Linked DNA regions of Homo sapiens: regions 1, 3 and 4 are each linked to region 2. The links are contacts of gene promoters, found by promoter capture Hi-C in human tissues and cell types (Jung and others, 2019). All regions are on one chromosome and are shown on one strand. The core of a region is centred on a gene start or on the middle of the fragment in contact, and the rest is flanking DNA. Distances in the headings are between cores, read along the strand shown.

What was found. The method cuts DNA at HindIII sites, captures the fragments that hold promoters and counts their contacts. A contact is called where the count stands out against the background at its distance.
Region 1: a contact is called between a fragment that was not itself captured here and the fragment with the promoter of CHST8 in region 2, in 2 of the 25 tissues and cell types used here (dorsolateral prefrontal cortex and mesendoderm cells).
Region 3: a contact is called between a fragment that was not itself captured here and the fragment with the promoter of CHST8 in region 2, in 2 of the 25 tissues and cell types used here (dorsolateral prefrontal cortex and spleen).
Region 4: a contact is called between a fragment that was not itself captured here and the fragment with the promoter of CHST8 in region 2, in 5 of the 25 tissues and cell types used here (IMR-90 fibroblasts, dorsolateral prefrontal cortex, lymphoblastoid cells and 2 more).

What each region holds. Positions count from the first base shown.
Region 1 is chr19:33,363,039-33,365,738 of GRCh38, reverse strand. No RefSeq gene overlaps it. Among named protein-coding and RNA genes, the nearest start is that of CEBPG, 9.3 kb to the left of the region's middle. The HindIII fragment of the contact is 9,696 bases long and covers 1-2,700 here.
Region 2 is chr19:33,620,512-33,623,211 of GRCh38, reverse strand. CHST8 (carbohydrate sulfotransferase 8) reads right to left here and starts at 1,259. Exons shown (of 5, transcript NM_001127895.2): 1 at 916-1,259. RefSeq lists an enhancer at 1,554-2,298. The HindIII fragment of the contact is 24,734 bases long and covers 1-2,700 here.
Region 3 is chr19:33,948,543-33,951,242 of GRCh38, reverse strand. No RefSeq gene overlaps it. Among named protein-coding and RNA genes, the nearest start is that of SUNO1, 45 kb to the right of the region's middle. The HindIII fragment of the contact is 5,935 bases long and covers 1-2,700 here.
Region 4 is chr19:33,998,744-34,001,443 of GRCh38, reverse strand. It overlaps LOC105372371 (a long non-coding RNA gene), which reads left to right. Exons shown (of 3, transcript XR_935921.3): 3 at 1,046-1,206. Among named protein-coding and RNA genes, the nearest start is that of SUNO1, 95 kb to the right of the region's middle. The HindIII fragment of the contact is 5,642 bases long and covers 1-2,700 here.

The DNA.
Region 1 (2,700 bases), core at 183-2,682, 260 kb after region 2:
GTGGTATCCTAGATGGGATCCTGAAACAGAAAGAGGATATTAGAAACTAAGGAAATCCAGATTTGAAGTACGGGCAATATTTAATAATGGACTTCAATTAATGATAATGTATCAATATATCTTCGTTAACTATAACAAATATATGAATGTAAGGTGTTAGTAATAGGTGAAACTGGGAAATCTATACCTCCTTCTCAATTTTTTATAAATCTTAAGTTGTTTTGAGTCATGCACAGTGCCTGTAATCCTAGCACTTTGGGAGGCTGAGGTGGGAGGATTGCTTGAGGTCAAGTTTGAGACCAGCCTGGCCAACATAGTGAGGCCCCATCTCTACAAAAAAAAATTAAAAATTAGCCGAGCATGGGCGTGTGCCTGTGGTCCCAGCTACTTGGAAGACTGAGGCGGGAGGGTGGCTTGAGCCTAGAAGGTCGAGGCTACAGTGAGCTGCGATAGTGCCATCCCACTCCAACCTGGGCAACAGACCGAGACCCTATCTCTTACAATAATTAATTAAAAATAAAATAGTTCTGAGAAATTTTTTTAAGTATTTGGGATGCATTGCAGTCTTAACATTAACCTAAAACAGTACTGTTTTAAAACATTAACAACCCAGGCCAGATTTTAGCCAAATGGGTAAAGAAGAAAGCAGCAGAAGAGCCTCAGGCCCCACTCCCTCCCTCAGTCCACGAGCGGTGACTGTGCTTCTGCCAGGCAAACCCAAATCATGCAGAGAAATGGAGCAGAGAGGGAGAGTAGATCTACAGGAGCTCCTCCAGGAGGAGAGAGGGATAGAAAGAAGGAAGGGGAGGTGGAGGGGTCCACTTTGAGACTGCAGGGTGACGGAGAAGCCCAGGACACCATTTTTGGGTCTAGTGGGGAAGCCCCATCCTCCGCTGAAGGTCCAAACACCAGGTCAACCCCTGGAAGCCACAAGACTGAGCTGAGAAGGAAATGAGAAGCTTCCCAGACAGAGGGACATGGTTGTCCCTGGCACTCATTCTCCTATTCTCTTTCATCTGTCTCAGTCAATAGATGTTGATTGAATTCCTGCTCTGAGCCAGGCCCTGTCCCAAGTTCTGGGAGTCCTGTGAGGACCAAGCCAAGGGGCTGGAGAAGGGGGCAGGGGGGAGCTGGTGCCCAACAGATGAGACAGGGCCAAGGAGACACAGCCAGGCCAGGTGGGCTTGTGGCCTAGAATCCCTGTGCTTAGCGTCAGGAATCTGCGTCCACTCCTAGGCCGCCGTGACTGCTCCTTTTTCATCTTATTTTTCGTTTAGATTCCCACGGTAATAATCAGTTCCTGTGTCAGCCTCAACTGGGATTCATATTGACTTGGGTTTAGCAGGTGGAGTCGCCAGTCTATTTGCATAAATGTTGGGGTTTTGGCTGGAAGAGGAAGGTGGGGTTGTTGTCTTTCCTTTGCAGAGGTTTCTGGGGGGGAACTGAGGTGCAGAAGAAACTGGGATTTGGGGAGAGACAAGTGCTGTTTTGTAGTCCTTACAAAGAGAGTGACTTTCCCCCCGACCTCCGTGAACGATCCCCTGTGCCTTCAGCCAAGTGGGAACTGGAGTGAATGCAGAAACCACTTTGATGCCTCTAGGAAGTGATTCTTGTAAAAATCAGGAATCCGTGCCCTTGGCATAGGGGTATCAACTTTGTGAAGAAGAAGAAGAAGGAGCTGAAGCAGAGGCTCCACTGAAGCCCTCAGGAGACTTTGGGGGCCTTAAATATGAATGGCCTGGGTACATTATGGGGGGTGCCCAGGAACTCACTAAGGCCGGGCACCCTCAGAAACACTTTGTGGTGGAGGTCAGAGCATTTGTTCTGTTACAGTGAAAAAGATCCAACTGCACCCATAGGTGGGAAGCCCTGAGCCTACTTGAGAGCCAAAAGAGCAAATGGAACATTCCAGTTTAATCTCAGCTAGACGACGGATAAAACTAAAAGTCGCAGCAGCCAGAATGGCTTGTGAGATCGGAGTGTGTCTAGGGCAGAGGGAAGTGGGAGAGGGAAGGAGGAGGATTCTTCCTTCTAGGGAGAGGGAGGTGGAGGATGATCAAGAAAAGCTGGAAATGCCCGCCTCATTCTGATATGCCATCTGGTGGGCCATTTCCTCCCAATTCCATATATCCAAATCCTTCCCATTCCCCAAACTCCAGTCTCAGTCCTGGCCTGTGTGTATACTTTGTTCTTATAGAGAAGATTGTCTCTCTTTCTCTCTCTCTCTCTGTGTGTGTGTGTGTGTGTGTGTGTGTGTGTGTGTGTGTGTGTGCTTTAGAGACAGGGTCTTGCTCTGTCACTCAGGCTGGAGTGCAGTGACACCATCATGGCCTGCTACTACAGCTTTGACCTCCTGGGCTGAAGAGTTAAGAGAGACTCCTGTTTCAGTCTCCTGAGTAGCTGGGACTACAGTTGTGGACCACCATGCCTGGCTAATTTTTCAATTTTTTGTAAAGACAGGGTCTCAATATGTTGCCAAGCTGGTCCTGAATTCCTAGGCTCAAGTGATCCTCCCACCTAAGCCCCACAAATGGGGATTACAGGCATGAGCCCCTGTGCTTGGCAAGACTCTGTTGTATATACATATTACTGTGCTATGTACCTATGAGACTTTAGAAAACACAGCTGGGGAAATGGGTCCCTCCAACCTGAATGTGGGATCTGGGAGGCACACAATGACCTCCACTGCAATCCACTTCT
Region 2 (2,700 bases), core at 10-2,509:
CGCAGCCGCTTCAACTCCGGGTCGGGGTCGCGGGCCTGGAGACAAGATGTACGCGAAAGTTAGGGCGGCGGGAGTCCCGCACTGGAGAAGGAATCGGGGTCACATCAGACCCAAGCCCCAGCATCGGGCACTGCCAAAACCCGTGATCGCCCTCCTGGCCCGGCTGGCCTCCAGCGAGGCCAGAGCGGGTCTGCAGAGTCGGTAGCCGGAGTTGCAGCCGCCGTCAGAGCTCGGCTCGGTCCCGCGGCCAAACGGATCATTTCCCCGCCCCCTGGAGCCGCCCCAGGCTCCGACTCCCGCACTCCCGACACACGCACGCACACACCTTCACACCATCGCTGACGCACGCACACTCGCCTCCAGCACTCACAGGCCGGTGCCCTGGAGAGTTGCGGGTCGGGGACGCGCGCGACGGAGCCGCTGGGTAGGAAGCCAAGGCCACTTAAACTTCCCCCATAGTCTCTGCCCGCCGCAACCCGTCCGGAGCCCCGGCTCCGAGCGCGCCAGGAAGCCCCAGCGCCCCGAGCGCTCCTGCCTGGCCCTCGGCGCTCGCTGCTCAGCGCCCGACGCCGCCTCCCCGCGGGCAGCACCGAGGGCCAGGAGGCGGAGCGGGAGTCCGCAGGGACCAAGAGGGCCCGAGGGACGGCAGTTCCCAGAAGCGCGGCAGCGAGTGAGATCCAAGGAGAGAAAGTCTAATTAAAGTTCCCGCTACCGGGGCCGGTCCCCAAAGTGCAACCAGACCCGAGCCCCGCGCGCCCACCTCCGCCCGCAGCTTCGGACTCCCATTCGCGTGCGGTGGCGGGGATGGCGAGCGGTGCAGTCCGGGGCCCGCTCGGGACCCCTTCCTGGCGTCTCTGCAGGCCAGGAGCCTGCGCAGGGCGGGAACAGGGGTGGGGCAGGGGCGCAGCCACTTACCTGGCGCAGCGGACGCACCCGAGGCCGCGGGCGCCTCCAGTCCGGGAGCGGTTCTCCGCGGCGGATCCTCTGCTTGGGGCGCGCAGGCGGCGGAGAGGACCTCCGACCCAGCTCGGGCCCGGTGCCTCCGCCCGCTCCAAGCGGAACCCAGTGCGATCTGTGGGCGAGCAGCGTGGGGCCGGCAGCCGGAGCGTGCGGGGAGCGAGAGGGCGCGGGGCGGCGTTCCTCTTCGGCCCCCGGCGCGATCGGTCCCCCACCTCCTGCTGCCGCCGCCGCCTCGTCCTCTCTCCTCCCCGCAGCACTGCCGGATCCGGCTTGCGCGCCGGGAAGGCTCCCAGCGAAGTGAGAGCGAAGCCTCCGGCGAGGCTGGAAATAGCGCCGCGCCCGCCCGGCGCCCCGCCCCCGGCCCGTGCCCCGCCCCGCCGTGGTGGCGGCTACGGCGGTGGCCGGGCCGGGCGGGGATCGCTCCAGCGATGCACTCGGCCCTCCCGGGGGCTCGCGGGCGCCGCGCCCACGCGCGCTCTGCGGCTCCCGCGGCCCCTCTGGCAGCGCTCTCAGAAAGAGTCGCTGCTGGGCGCGGTCCGGCGGCCGCGGGGGTGGGAGCGGTCGTGGCTGGGGCTGCGCCGGTCTCCCGGTTCAGGAGAGCCGGACTCCGGCCTGACGCTAGGCTCCAGACCGCGGCCAGTGCTGCCACTGCCTCGGTGGGTCGCACGCGGCGCCAACCCGGGAAAAGGACCAGGCGTCACCGGGGCGGGCCTTGACCACAGCGGGGCAGGGGCGCGCGCCCAGGACCCGATGCTGCGGGGGCGCAGGGCCGGTGAAAGGCGGAAGATTGATCCTGAGGAAGATTCTGGGATATCCCTGGGCTTCAGCTCGCGTGGAATTCGGTCAAGGCCGCGAGCTGCCTCAGGCCCGGGTGTCCGCATCCATCCTCAAATCCCTGGGGCTCTAGATTCTGCTGAAAGTGCCCTGCGAACAGGTGCTCCCTTCAGGACTTCATCCTGGAAGTTTGTGTCGGGTCACCAGCCTGAGAGCGGGGCCAACCGACCCTCTTCATACACACTCGGGAAAACAGCGTGGAGGGTGGAACCGGCCCACGGCCACACAGCACCGGGACAGAGTAGGGACAGGAACACGGGGCCCTGGATTCGGGTCCTTGTTCTTCCTAAGAAGAGGCAGCCCCAGCCTGCAGGGGACAAGCAGGCCTTGGGAAGGGGGGCAACTGCTTTCTCACAGGAGCTGGAGGAAACTGTGCACACAGTCACCTGTTAGTCTTGAAGGGACACTCAGTATTTTCAAACAACAGCAGAGAAGCCTTTAATAAAGTGAAAGACCCTTACTCTCTCCTCTCTAATGGTACCTGCTGGCTGGTTGGCCTGACTCCTACCAGCTGACCTAGAGTGAGTGATGGAATTGGGGAGTGAGCTGGGCCCATGGGTCTTGACTGACCAGAGTGGGGGACACCAGGCGGAGAGCAGAGCCACTCCTGGGGACGGCCAGGGAGCCCCTCAGCCCCAGGGCCATGAGGCCTCCTTAATGCCCCAGGTAAGCTCAGAGCATCCAAAAATAGACCAGGACAGATAAGAAGATAAATAGAAGCATGACAAAGAGATCATGGTCTTCCTTTAATTCTTGCAGCAACAGAGTAGACATTATCACTCCCGTATTACAGATGAGCGAATTGAGATGCAAAAATGCCACCATTTTGCTGGACTCCACGCATCTGGAGAATGGCCCAGGTGTGATGATTCCAAACTGGGATAGGCTTTGTTCTGGGGTTCCCTT
Region 3 (2,700 bases), core at 52-2,551, 330 kb before region 2:
GGCTCAAGAGATCCTCCTGCCTCAGCCTCCCAAGTAACTGGGACTACATGTGCATGCAATCACACCCAGCTAATTATTTTATTTAATTTTTTTGTAGAGACGTGGTCTTGCTATCTTACCGAGGCTGGTCTCGAACTCCTGGCCTCAGGCGATCCTCCTGCCTCAGCCTCCCAAAATGCTGGGATTACAGGCATGAGCAGCGCAAAGTTTTAGTTAAGCAAGATGAATAAGCTCTAGAGCTCTGTAGTAAAAAATCCTGTATTGTCCACTTAAAAAATGTGTTAAGAGGGTAGATCTCATGTTGAGTGTTCTTACCACAATAAAATAACATTAAAAATGCATCTGTTTTAAAGGATAGTTTCCCTGGAAAGGTGGTTCAAAGAGCGTAGGCAAATCTCATCTTACCAAGGAGCTGGTTACGCATGAGAGCAAATAAGAACTGCACATGAAACATGAGAATTAAAATTAGGTGGGTCTTTTTTTTCCCCAACCATCTTACTTTTTATAGTTATTTCGGAGAAATCTGCATTTTTCACTTGGAATGTGCCGTGCCTTTGTCGGCCAGCGATGTATACCAGTCTGCCTGGCTGTTTCCGCTGGCTTGTCAGGCTCACTAATTAGAGAGCTGCAGCGTGATTCACCTTGTTAATTAGAGGGACTTGCACACGGAGCCCTTCGGGCAGTGTATGAGAAAGCCTCGCACCAGTGCCCCGAGAACGATGCAGTCTGTGAAGTCATTCTTCTCATCTACCTTCTATTTTTCATTTGAAATGAATAAATCATCGAGATTTTCCTTGTGGAGTGAGAATGCAAGAATTCACATCTTTGTAAGATGTAAATTACATGTGATCAATAGGAAGCGATGACGCGCGCATTGTACTTACATGATTTCCTAATTTACTCCTTGTCAGTGTCTGAAAAAATGGCCTGAAATATTTGTCTCCTTTCCATGAATCAGTGCCCTTCATCTGGTAAAAGAGGGTGTTGAGTGAGAAACACAGCTGTTTTATTTTAGCTGCTGGAGCCTGGTCCAGTGGTGTGTTGTTTGCTTGCATGGAGAGAGGGGGAAGCTTCTGGAAGCCAGGCCTCTGGAACAATCTCCTTCTCCCCAGCTTCCCCCAGGGGCCTGTCTGCTCGAGAAGAGACAGGGCATAGCAGGTAACTTTGATTGAGGTATTCTTTTGTAATAGAGATCCCCACTTTTTGGAATGGAGGCTTTAGATGTTTTGTGTCTTTTTTAAAAAACATCTTAATTTTAAATAATAATATTTTGGCTGTATTAGACTACGGACCCAGTCACAGAAACAGCAGTGCCTCTGAACAGCATGTTACCTTCTTTCCTATCTGTATAGGATACTCTGGAAATAGTTTCATTGGCTTTCTCCCCAACTACTTGATTAAAATTAAGTGTTGCATTTGAATAAGTTTCAGCAGCTTTCTCTCCAAGTACTTGATTAAAATAAAGTGTTTTAGTGAAACAAGACTAGGAAGAGGCTCAAGATTTCTCATTGGTGAAAAGAAGGATGGTCCTTAAACGTGTGGTTTTCCCATTTAAAAAAAAAAAAAAAAAGCTGAGGGGCTCAGCCCGGTGGTCTGAGGGTCTCTGCTGAGGAGTCTGATTCAATAACCCTGTTATCAGACAGGGGAGTGAAAATTAACCTTTTTGCTCATTCATTGCAGTTTGCAGCAATTGTACATGCTCACTCACAGAGATTTTGGCAAAAGATTTGCAAATATTTCTTTAGAGAAAGGAAAAGATTTTATATCAATATCTTCTTTTCCTGGGAAGGGTGTGGATGGACCAGAGTAGCTGTTTTCTAGAATGTTCTTTCCACCATTCTGAGCATCTGATTTGGTGCCCACGAGCACAAATTGAGCGCAGGCTGCATGCAGAACACCACCCCAGCCTGGAGGGAAACCCAGGACACAGAGACCATTCCTGTCCTCAGGGCCTCATGGGCCCCGTGCAATGGAGAAGCAGCAAATCACTAGCATACGGTGGTGAGTGCTCCAAAGCCCTTAAGTCAGCAGAGGGGAGGCGAGTCAGGACAGAAGTCACAGAGGGAGGGACACTTGTGAGGGCTCCTGGGGAATGGGCAGAGCTTGCCAGGTGCAGAAGGCCTTGCAGGATGGGGGTACAGTCGGTGGGAATGCATGGTCCATTCGGGAGTGTGAGTAGCTTGGGAAGGCCAGAGAATGGGTGAGTGAGAGAAGAGATGGCTGCAAAGGCAGGGAGATAGGGTCAAGTCCCAAAGGGCTGCCATTCCAGCCTCCAAATGTGACCTGGTCGTGCTTCTGGGTGCAGAAGTACTTAGCATGTGCACTGTTGAGCTCTGGCTGGATGGGCAGAGGGGTCAACGTGTGGGCACCCCAGATGGACTTTTTGGCTCAGCAGGAACCCAGGCAGGTCTGTGGGACACCTTAGGAGGATGCAGGAGTGTGTGGGATTTCTTTGACACATTTGCCCTCTGCACAGTTCCAGCTCTGAGTGCAGGAACCAGCAGATATAGGGAGTAAAGAAGGGAGGCCACCAGGCACAGTGGTTTATACCTGTAATCCCAGCACTTTGGGAGGCTGAGGCAGGCGGATCACCTGAGGTCAGGAGTTGGAGACCAGCCTGGCCAATAAAAACCCCGTCTTTACTAAAAATACAAATATTAGCTGGCTGTGGTGGTGCATGCCTGTAGTCCCAGCTACTTG
Region 4 (2,700 bases), core at 25-2,524, 380 kb before region 2:
TGGGGGTTTCACCATGTTGCCCAGGCTGGTCTCGAACTCCAGACCTCAAGTGATCCAGCTGCCTTGGCCTCCCAAAGTGCTGGGATTATAGGCTGAGCCACCACACCCAGCATTCACATAGTTCTTTAGGCCTTTCCTATATCAGCACATGCTAAACAGCATGGAAGGAGGATGTCCGGCCTTGTGTTGCTGGCTTATATCTGAGACAGATGTTGTGCAAATAACTGTTAGCAATTCAGGTTTGATTTCATTGTCGAAGTGATTTGGGGTCTAAAAGTTTGGCACCATGGGATATGTGAGAAGTGTGTGTTAGGCACATTTCTTTTTTCTTTTTTCTTTTTTTTTTTTTGGAGACGGAGTCTCGCTCTGTCGCCCAGGCTGGAGTGTAGTGGTACGATCATGGCTCACTGCAACCTCCGCCTCCCGGGTTCAAGCCATTCTCCTGCCTCAGCCCCCCGAGTAGCTCAGATTACAGGCATGTGCCACCATGCCTGGCTAATTTTTTTTGTATTTTTAGTAGAGATGGGGTTTCACCATGTTGGCCAGGCTGGTCTCGAACTCCTGGGCTCAAGTGATCCGCCCACCTCGGCCTCCCAAAGTGCTGGGACTACAGGAGTGAGTACCACATTTCTATCTCTGCTTTGTGGTGGCTGCTCCATCAGATTAGTTAGGCTTCTTGGAAATAAAAGATTTGGGTGCATGGAATTATATAGAGAGGCTAATGAGGGTAGAAGGACAATGTACAGCATTTTAAAGACTTAAAAAGGAAGAGAAACTGTATTTTAAACTTGAGTTAGCAATATTATAAGCAAATTGGTTTTTTTTTTTAAAGAAACCTACAGTAGATTTTATTTAAAACTGAATATTTAACGGTTTATTGGGTAAGCCCAAAGGCTTGAAATTACACGTCTATGAATTTAGGCCTTGCGTTTTTGACACCTTGGATCCTATTCTCCTTCCTTTGCTATTTTTTAACTTACTGCAACAGATGAGGGGCTCTTAAACCATCTGTTAACCTTTCTTTCTCCTTTTCTTAACCGTGTAGAGTTGCTCAAGGCAAGAAGACCCGGTGCCAGCAAGACTGAAACAAAAAAGCAAAAGAGGTGAGCATGGAAGAGATCATTGGGTTTGACATTTCAACGCTTGGGCCTATTAATTTTTTATGCCCTGCTACTTGTATATCGTTAATAAAAATCTGACGAAAAACTTTTTAGGATGTATTTGTTGCTTTGGCTTTGATCTTAATGTTTGCAAACTAATACATTAATACATGTGAAGCCTTAAGGAGTTTTTCTAAGAGAATATTTCCATACATTATATTTTCATTTCCATTTTAGGTAGCTGAGCCTCTGTGGGGTTGCAGATGGTAGTGGCATTCGATTTTGGTGGGAAATGTATCTCTTTGCCTGCCGTTAAATGTTACTTCTCAGACAAAACGAAACCTTGTCATCAGTCTTTTACCTAAATTCACTTCTGCAAGAGCCCCACACCTCTAAGGTGGTGTTGTCATTTCAAATTCTTCATTCTAAAAAGATACGTGAAACTCCATTCAGTTATTTGCGATAGTAAAACCAGTCCCAGATCATCTAATAGCAGGGATTGCTGTCTAATTATTAAAATTTCACTTGGATTAGGCTACAGAGATCAGCTCAACTGAACATCATTATTTTTTTTTTTACCCCTTTTTAGGTGTCTGTTCCCTAGTAGCAACATCTGTGACTGAGTTGTGACAAACTCAAAAGTTAAGCCAACACACACGTGTCATCTTTTTATTTATATGTTACCTCTCTGCTCCCAAATATAAGACACAGTGATGGCATGAAAAAATGTTCACAAAAACCCTCTAAGCAACAAATGAGATTTGAGGATCTAATGAATACTTGCATTATATTCGAAAATTTACTTTATAAAATAAGTAGACATGAAACTTGAATGATTACTTATTATTTTATGCCTAGTGTTCCACTATTGGAACACCAAGCCTGTGGGAGTTATTTATATCCTACTGCTCAAGGTCAGCGCCAAGGTCTGATTTTTCACTTATGCAAAAATTCAAAAAATTGCAACCTCCAGCATAAATGGGTTAAAAATGATCACTAACCCAATTTTAAACAGTTCGTGGGTGAATAGACTATTACAATGACCCTCTCAGTTGCACATTACTTTAAAGTGACTGCGAAACTCATTGAATATTTACGATTTATGTTGAGTATAATACTACCTTCAATAGTTTTTGAATTTTTATCCTTGTAAGTAATGTTTGAAATGTCTGTCATTTTCTAATTTATGAGTAATTAATTATTCTGGTAAATGTTAAGTACCTTTTTTTACAGGAGAGTGTATGGAAAGAAAAAGTATACTACACAGAAAAGAAAAATTAATTCAGATTAACCATTAAAATAAACACTGATCAGCATGATGATTATTATGAAAATTTCTTTTACTATTGTTCCCCAAAAGATGGATGAAATTCTTATCAATATGGTTATTTTTTTAGATCCACTAGAGGGAGTAATGCTGTACAGATGTGTATTTTTTAATGAAAAAAATTTGTTTGTTACTGAGTTTGTAAATAAAATTTTGGTAACAGTATTATCAAAATTCACCAGCCATGGAGTTGAGTGTGGCTTTTTATTTATGACTTTTACTAGATGACAGAGGGGAGCTCTATACTTCCACGCATTTGTCCTATTTCTTTCT